2 separate regions of the Homo sapiens genome follow, and region 2 is linked to region 1. Evidence: promoter capture Hi-C in 16 types of primary human blood cells and fetal thymus (Javierre and others, 2016). All regions are on one chromosome and are shown on one strand. The core of a region is centred on a gene start or on the middle of the fragment in contact, and the rest is flanking DNA. Distances in the headings are between cores, read along the strand shown. Region 1 holds the start of TMEFF2 (transmembrane protein with EGF like and two follistatin like domains 2). Region 2 overlaps LOC105376755 (a long non-coding RNA gene).

The links. Contacts are between HindIII fragments. The CHiCAGO score rates a contact against its expected background, and 5 or more counts as called.
Region 2: a contact is called between a fragment that was not itself captured here and the fragment with the promoter of TMEFF2 in region 1, in 1 of 17 cell types (endothelial precursors). The highest score is 6.7, in endothelial precursors.

Annotation. Positions count from the first base shown.
Region 1 is chr2:192,192,420-192,196,899 of GRCh38, reverse strand. It overlaps TMEFF2 (transmembrane protein with EGF like and two follistatin like domains 2), which reads left to right and starts at 1,967. Exons shown (of 10, transcript NM_016192.4): 1 at 1,967-2,547. The coding sequence starts at 2,376. RefSeq lists an enhancer at 1,446-2,021. The HindIII fragment of the contact is 4,792 bases long and covers 1-2,892 here.
Region 2 is chr2:194,815,543-194,820,022 of GRCh38, reverse strand. The region is part of intron 3 of LOC105376755 (a long non-coding RNA gene); the gene reads left to right. Among named protein-coding and RNA genes, the nearest start is that of LINC01790, 87 kb to the right of the region's middle. The HindIII fragment of the contact is 833 bases long and covers 1,625-2,457 here.

The DNA of each region.
Region 1 (4,480 bases), core at 718-3,217:
TCCAACGTCTGGTCTAATTGATCTGTTTTAATGGAGTCTTCGTCGGTGAGGAGCGAGATGCCACCGACTAGAATGCTGGGATCTGCTGCTTAATTGCCAGGAGTGAGAGACACTGAGATTCAGAAATCTTTGGAGGTGGGAGGGGAGAGGGACAGTCTCGGACGGAGGCGGAGATGTAAGATAAAGGGATGGATTTCACACAGGAAAAAAAAAAAGATTTCGTTGAGGCACTGAGGTGCTGCACGATCACATCTCTCAAAGGAGAAGTTAAAAAGCAAGGAAGTGGGAGGAGGTTGGAGGTTAAAGTACTTAAAAGGATTACTCGGGTACAATTTGTTTTTCTGCTGGTGTCTGCAAAGGATAGATAGTCCCGTTTTCAAAGTATATGAATGCCTCTTTTAAGTGATTGGGAATGGACACTAATTGCCTGTTAAATGTTATCAAATGCTCTCCTAAATTCAGGGGACACAGAAAGAGGGGCACAAAAGGAGAATTTAAATAGAAAAAGGGAGGATCCGGAGGCTTTTGAAAGCGGGGGGAGAAGAAGGAGGAGGGATAACAGAGAGGAATAGAGAAGGAGAGCGGAGAGAAGATAAACAAAAACAAAAACAGGAATCACTGAATAATCACACACCAAAAAGAAAGCTCTTCCCTATGGGGCATCCAAAACACTGAGACTGCAATAGTGACCCCGGTCATGGAAGAAAGATGTTCCTCTCCACCCTTGTCCCCGAAAGCTCTTGGTCCCGTTACTGGCGACTAAAATTCCATTAGGCTAAAGAGTGTGTCTAACTGCCTGAAGAATGCAGCAGACGGAAGGCGGGTCCCGCTATGCCGTTTGCCCTTCCCGCTGGAGAGAATGAAAGAAACGCGCAGAGCCAGAGACTCCTGCCGAGTTAGACCTTCTCTCGTCGCCCCAGGTCACCGGCCATCCGGCAAAGACCCGAGTAAGGAACGCAGGGTCACTGCCTGGGCCAACAAATGGAGCCCGCTCTCCCCTTCCCGGACGCCGCTGCCCGGCCGATGCTCCCGGCAACCCACCCGCGGCGTATGCAGAGGAGCCTTTCTCTTTCTCTCAGACCACTTGTCCCGACCAATCTGACCTTCCAAACACATCTGACCGCACCTCCCAGGTGGACACACTAATAGGCTACGGGCTGGAGAGGAGCGGGTGATGAGGAGAGGGATTCAAACCTGCGAACGCTTGGGCTGGGTCGGAGCTGCGGGGGGCCTGGGAGGAGAGAGGGGAGAAGAGAGAAGGAAGGAGAGCGCCTGCCGGGATGGCTGAGCTGCCTCGGCGAGCAGCCTTGGGGTTGCACGCTCTTGTGGGAGATGCTGCTGTTGCTTCCAGGTCGGCAAGAGCGGTTCTAACACCATCGCCTCTCACCCTCTTTCCTGTAAATCCCTAGAGAAACGTCCCTGGCCTCTCCGCCGCGACATTCCCAGCCTGCATCCCCCTACAGCCTAGGCGGCGCGCTCCCGCACGCTGGAGCGCCGGTCGCCAGCAGGACGCCCTCTCCCGCGCCGACTCGCCCCTCTCTGCCCTGCTGCTGCTGCTCCTCTGACACCTCCGCCCCCACCATCTCCAGCTCGGAGAGACGCCACCCAGCCGCGGCCCGCACTCGCGGCCCGGGGTCACGCGCGGAAGAGGGGCGCTAGTCCGGACCCCGCCTTCGGTAGGGGGCGTCCTGGAGCGGAGAGTGAGGCGAATGGTATATGAGTGTGCGGGTAGCCCACCCTGAAGCCCGAGCTTCTCATTTGAGCCATCCCCGCCTAGCCCCACTCGGGCCAGCGCCTGGCGAGCGAGCCCATCTGTGGCTTCCGCGGCCGCCTCCTCCTTGCATCCTTGCACCTCCTCGTCGACCCCTCCCTCCCGGGACCTGCATCCTGCTCCACCAATCAGAGCCCGACTGCCTCTTCCCACGTGACCCCGGGCGGGCTGAGGACCTGCTGCTTCCCAAACGCCAGAGGGATGCGGGCGGCAGAGCTCGAGAGGCGGCTGCCGGGCTGCGGGGCGCCTTGACTCTCCCTCCACCCTGCCTCCTCGGGCTCCACTCGTCTGCCCCTGGACTCCCGTCTCCTCCTGTCCTCCGGCTTCCCAGAGCTCCCTCCTTATGGCAGCAGCTTCCCGCGTCTCCGGCGCAGCTTCTCAGCGGACGACCCTCTCGCTCCGGGGCTGAGCCCAGTCCCTGGATGTTGCTGAAACTCTCGAGATCATGCGCGGGTTTGGCTGCTGCTTCCCCGCCGGGTGCCACTGCCACCGCCGCCGCCTCTGCTGCCGCCGTCCGCGGGATGCTCAGTAGCCCGCTGCCCGGCCCCCGCGATCCTGTGTTCCTCGGAAGCCGTTTGCTGCTGCAGAGTTGCACGAACTAGTCATGGTGCTGTGGGAGTCCCCGCGGCAGTGCAGCAGCTGGACACTTTGCGAGGGCTTTTGCTGGCTGCTGCTGCTGCCCGTCATGCTACTCATCGTAGCCCGCCCGGTGAAGCTCGCTGCTTTCCCTACCTCCTTAAGTGACTGCCAAACGCCCACCGGCTGGAATTGCTCTGGTAAGTCCAGAACCCCCGTCCCCGACCCTTTAACTCCGCAGAAGAACACGCGTATCCAGCACAGACCAGCCTACCCTAGCGCGCCTCCTCAGCCCCTCACCTCCTACTGCCCTAGACCCCTAATACCACCCACCTCTATCCAGAGAAACAAGGGGAACTGTTGCAGGCCCGGGGGTGAGGGGTGGTTCTGGGATGGGCAGAAAGTGCAGGTGTAGCAGGAAACCTTTGCATGCTTGCGCTTACATTGGAGCTGCGAGGATTTTGAGAAATATTAAACGGGATGGTTTTCTGGGTTCACTGTTTTGAAAGAGCACCAATCCTAGGGGAAACACTGAAACAGAAGCTTTGTCATCATTAAAGAAAAAAGTCTTACTAGGATGAGGAAGAAATAACTTTATGAGAAAGAATGAGCGAGAAAGCAATAAATCAAATGGTGACTGCAGGGGAATCGCTGATTCCTGGCAAAGGTGCCATGAGGTCGCACTGGTCTCCCGTTGAAGACCAGGTCACACAGATTCTAGAGGAGCTGGGTTTCAATAGAATTTCTCTCTCTCTCTCTCTCTCTCTCTCTCTCTCTCTCTCTCTCTCTCTATCTATCTATCTCTCTCTCTCTCTCATTCCCTTCTCTCCTAGGCGGCAAAAGACATTGGTTTTGCAGTCCAGATATGCCCCTCTCTTTGCTTCCCTAAGCTTCAAGGTAGTACAGGGGAGTTGAGAAAAAGAACACTTTGCGGGTCTCCCAGGCCGGAGTGGGCATGACTGAGGCTGGTCAGGCTCCATGTAGGCGAGCCGAGGGCGGAACCGACTTCAGTGGGCGCTGACTCCTCCATTTCTGGACAGGCTTCTGTGGAGTGGGTCAGGCACTCTTCTTGCTCGCTCGGGTTCCTTCAGATTCTGACGGCGAACGCTTGGCAGGCTTCGCTCTGCTGAAGCTTCCTAATTAAATAGGGCCAGAGGATGGGAGTTGCTGCACTCCTAGCTGGCATAGCATTTCGGTTTGACAGCCTGTAGTATACTGGGCAGAATTGTGGTGTAATTTCCTTGGCATTTTAAACTCCGTTAACATGCCTGGGTATTGTCCCCTAGGTGTGGTCTGTTCTAGTTTTAGCAAGTGTGTATGTAATTTTTCATCTTCTGTGAATATAATTTTGCTGTAGTTAAATCTGGCTCTGAATAAAGTGTCTTTCAAAGATGTATATAAGCTGAAGTGTATGTAACTTTAGAGAGGAGGGAATGACCAACTGTAACTCAGGGTGAAAGCCTGTATAGTTCCTAGTTATTACTGATGTAAATGCCAAAAGGAAAATTATTATGCATCATTCTAATTTATCCTTTACAAAGACAAGTTGAGATATGCAACCCTATTAGATTTGGGTCAATAGATTGTTCTCTTTTTTGGCAGTTTCTAAATTTGGCATTTTAATAAAACTCAACATGTTTCTATAACTTCTTGATTCATGCGTACATGTGTGTTGTTTTTGAAAGAATAAGTTTCACTTTGCTATTGCCTAATCACTTTTTAGATGCTTTATTATGGTAATAATTATGAGCCTGCAAAAACAATTTTTGGAAATGTTGATGGCTTTGTAGTCCAACACAGACTGGTTTGCTTCATTCCTAGCCCTTGCATTGTTTTAGGAAATAACTAACTTAAATGTGAAGTTGACATTTGCAATCAAGAAATTACATATTTACCAGATATTTTAAAGGGGACTGCATAAACTAAAGAGAATAAACTGGTTTTGCAGATAGGTTGTCAAGAACTTGGCACCCCGCTTCCACCCCTGTTAACTTAGAGGTGATCAATCTTCATTTGAGCCAAACAGACCATCACAGAAAACACTGTGCCTGTTTATCTTTATTATTGAGGCTTTGTTTCCTCTTTGTCTGGATACATTTCAAATAAGGGGTTGTTTCAGTCGTTGAAGCAAAA
Region 2 (4,480 bases), core at 792-3,291, 2.6 Mb before region 1:
ATTTCTTAATACATTAAATCAGTCTGTTCTATTTCCTTTCTTTCCTGCATGTGTTTAAATATATTCTTCTATGTTTTTCTTAGTATAGAATATGTGCATTAAATTAGTAAGGATGTAATTGCTTAAGTTTTCTGAAAATGTTATTCTTATTACATTTAGAAAGCAATGTAATGTAAAGTCATTAAATAAATTCTATGTATGTTCTGTTTCCTGGTCACATTTGCTTTTAGGTCTTTAAAAAAAACCTCTTAACTATTTGATGAGAGATTTACATTATAAACTGAATTCAATTCTGGAACTACTACAGAACACTTTGTGATGGAATATTGCCAATATAGTATCCACATTTGTTGACACAATATAGACAGCAAAGAAGGAAAAAAAAAAGAATCAAAAACAATTATTGTTAATCCTATAGTTTTGGTATGAAGTCTTTAGGTGGCACTGTGGTTCCAGCAGTAAATCATTTAACATCAAAGAGCCTTCTATTAGGACTATGATTAAACAACTCTGCCACTGATTTTGTATTTAATTTTTATAATTATGCCTTATATTTATAGGGCTTATCCTAATTTATAGAATGTTTTTCTCATATGTTACTTCATATTATTTGTAAAACCAGGAGCAAAGCAAAATACCCCTTTTATTCCTCTTTGACAGATGACAAAAAGAAAAGATTCAGGGGAATGAAGCCATTTTTACAGGCCCTATCATGTTCTGTAGTATATTTTGAAAAAGAATTTTTAACATTTCTTCCCGGTCTATCTCCACCTCACTGTCATAAGTTTTCTCAGGTCTTCCCATCTCTAACATGATTGACACTAACTTCAGTGACAGTGAACACCTGAAGGTATTAGACATGGCGCAATCACTTGGATGATGTTTCTGTTGAACAAAGGGTAGTAAAGGTGTCAATATGCTGTGGTTCTTTTAATTTCTTTATGTCTTTATTCTCTTATGAATCTCTCTTCTTATCTACATAGGACATAAAACTTGAATAAGCATTACAGTAATTAATGAACATGGGGCATAAAATTTAGAACTATATGCTAGGTAAGATTTTTTACATAGACCAAAGGAAAAACACCTAAGGATATAAGCCCTTTCTATAGTAGTCTTCTAAAAATATATCCTCTTATATGTCCTCAGTTTCTAAATTTAATACCCTATTAAGAGTTTTTGCCTATCTGTAAAAATTGTCTTCTTCCTTAAACTTTGAATGTACAATCTCCAGCCAACTTTTCAGAAAACCTAACTACTTATGTAGTTTGTATGGGTCCCAAATTCATCCCCAGCAATCTATTTTTCCACATTTGACATATCCAAGCAACAAAATATATCCAGAGTTCCAGCAAGAAATTCTGGGTGGCCCACAGAGCAGTTCATTAGACATTCCCAGGGCTAGACATTCCCAGGTCTATGATCTTTCTTCTGCAAAACATTCCCAAGTCTATGCTCTTTGTTACTTCATTGGAATAGTTGCAGTCATATAAATATGACTCTCTGTTTCTCAGTTAATAACTTAAATAAGACACAAACTTACATTTTTCTGCCCCAACATACACATTTATTTCTTCCAGGACAATAACAGATATTAATTCTGAGACACAGTTCCATCCAAGCTTTCTAAGAATGAGGGGACTATTCTCCTAATTGCCCCATGGTTTGCCAGGCTACAGGTCTTCTATGGAATTAGTGTTTCACATTATTAAGTAGGGAATCATCTACTTTCAAACTTTGCTCCTTTGCAGAGAATAAGATTTGATTTCATGCTTATCCATATGTTCTTAATAACTGCTTCCTTGACTTGTAAGATAAGACTAAGTTTTCCTGTTTACTCAGATTCTTCTAAAAGTCTCTTCTCCAGTTTGGAGAAAGGAAGAAAGTACATTGTTCCATTTATAGTTAACTAGTAGATTGATTGCAAATATCCATTTTGGAAAAGAGAGACAATGCCATTTTTTTAATGTTGCTTTATAGCTCCTCACTTGATTCTTACCTTTTCTCTGCACCTATGCTATGTGATATAAAGATTTGCTCTAAAATGTAGATTGCTTATCAATAAATGTTAAAGGAAGAGCAGAGCCTTTAATCATGAAGAATTCAGGGTTGGGGCAAAAGTAGAGCTAGAGAGATGGAAATTTGTGCCTGGTTAACTGGTACCAAGTAACATATTAATTTTGCAAAACCCATCAGATGTCAAAAGATATGATTGAGTGACCTCTAATTTCTCTATGCCTTGTGTTTAATTTTCTTAATGTTCTTAATCTCATGTTTAAGTCTAAGTTATATTTATGCACTCTAATATCCAGAATTTTATCTTTCTTTTTCCTCCAAAATTACTCCAAGGTAATTTTTAGCATCTTACATTGAGAGAGTCTTACTTGTCTAGTGTTAAAGGAAAACATTTACTTGTATTCAAATTATTTTTTGGATGTATGTAACTCAAACAAAGCTTGTACTAACAAGGTAAAAATATCTTTAGGTTTCACCAGTCTTATTCTTGAAATTCTTATGAGCGTATATGTATATTTCTTGGAAAGTGAGCAATTAATAGATGTGGGCATAAAGAATCATTAAAACAATCTAACAAAAAGGAATGTAAGCAAAGAAATAAGAACCCACAAAATAACTGTTTTATGATAGAGGGATATCCATTTTATACATAAAAAGCCTTCTTTTCAATAAGGAAGTCAACTGCTTCCACGGTTTTCATCACATTTTCTACATGCTTACATCTCTAAAAAAAATTCACAATGTAAGAAATTGTAGTGGAAACATTTTCCGTTGTAAATACAGAAGAAACAGGACTCATATCTTATCTTTCAGATAATATAAATATTCGTGGATGTGAGAATTATAGATACATAGGAGATCTTTAATATATTGAAATATATTGACATGATTAAAATATGTTGCTTCTCTGTATTGTCAGGAAACATATGTTATTTTGACAAGACGAGACATATTTGCAATATTGCACATAAACCCAAATTTCAGTTTTCAAAGTTTCACTTTGATGAAAATTATTTTTCTTAAAAAGTATGAACATTATATTTTGAATTTGGGGGCAAATAAAAGAAAGTGAAAATTTCATCAAGACAACTAGATTAATGCCAAATAACTTACAGAAAAATTAAAGAATACATGTAAACATGTATATAATGTTAGAGAATCTATAAATATATAAAAATAAAATGTATATACATTATTGTGTAAAAATTATTTCTTCTTTGTTGGTGTTTATTTTAAATGAATGAAGTCAATGTCTGTCTGTACTCTCAGTGTCAAGGACAATGAGAATTGGAGTCATAGAGAAGTGAATTTCAGTCAAGGCTCTTATATTTTCCAGTTAAGTATTTTTAAGCAAGTGATATGGTTTGGTTCTGTTTCTCTACCCAAATCTCACCTTGAATTGTAATCCTCATAATCCCTATGTGTCAAGGGCAGGACCAGGTAGAGGTAATTGAATCATGGCAGTGGTTTCCTCCACGCTGGGCTCATGATATTGAGTAGTCTCAGGAGATCTGATGGTTTTATAAGCCTTTGGCATTTTCCCTGCTTGCACTCATTCTCTCTCCTGTTGCCCTGTGAAGAGGTTCTTTCTGCCATGATTGTAAGTTTCCTGAGGCCTCCCCAGCCATACATAACTGTGAGTCAATTAAACCTCTCTTCTTTATAAATTACCCAGTCTTGGGTATTTCTTCATAGAAGCATGAGAATGGACTAATAAAGCAAGCCTCTTAACCTCTGAAAATCCTAATTTAAATTACTTTTATAAAGTGTTTTTTACCTAGCTCTTAAGGTTGCTGTAAGGATAAAGTGATGTAACATGCCTAACCAGTTGACTGGTACAGTAAAAATGTAATAAATGTTAAATGTTACTCTGAGCTATTATGGTACCTTATATTGCAGATCTCAAGTCAATTCTTGACATATTGTAAATAAATTATAGTTAGGCAGATGCATTTGCTAAATTTGGTGTATATATATATATATGCACGCAAAAGTTACTTTGTGGTCATTTGTAGATTGGTTTTATACCATTCTATCTTAAGTACACATTTTATTATGGACAATTGTGCTTTTGTAAATACTCTAAATTTCCCTTGAGATCTATAACATTCTGATTTATGTATATTAAAATTATAAAAGGTAGTATTTTCATTGGCTATATTCCAGATATTAAATATGATTAATTAGTTTAAAAGTCCCATTTACCAAAAATTTTACTTATAATAAGCAATAATACCATTTTCTATGTCTTTGGCTTGAGTTTAGCTTTTGCTACTTTATTATAGCAATGGTTCTGAATAATTATTTGGTAAAAATTCCACTTCCATGACTCTAAGATGAACTCCATGAGTCATTCTTTCTCTGTATCCTGTTTTCAAAAGGTATTCTAAGATGCTTTTGCTAAGTTTAACAAATTTTGATTTCATGCAAGTTCAACATTATGTTTATGTTTACATATTAAACT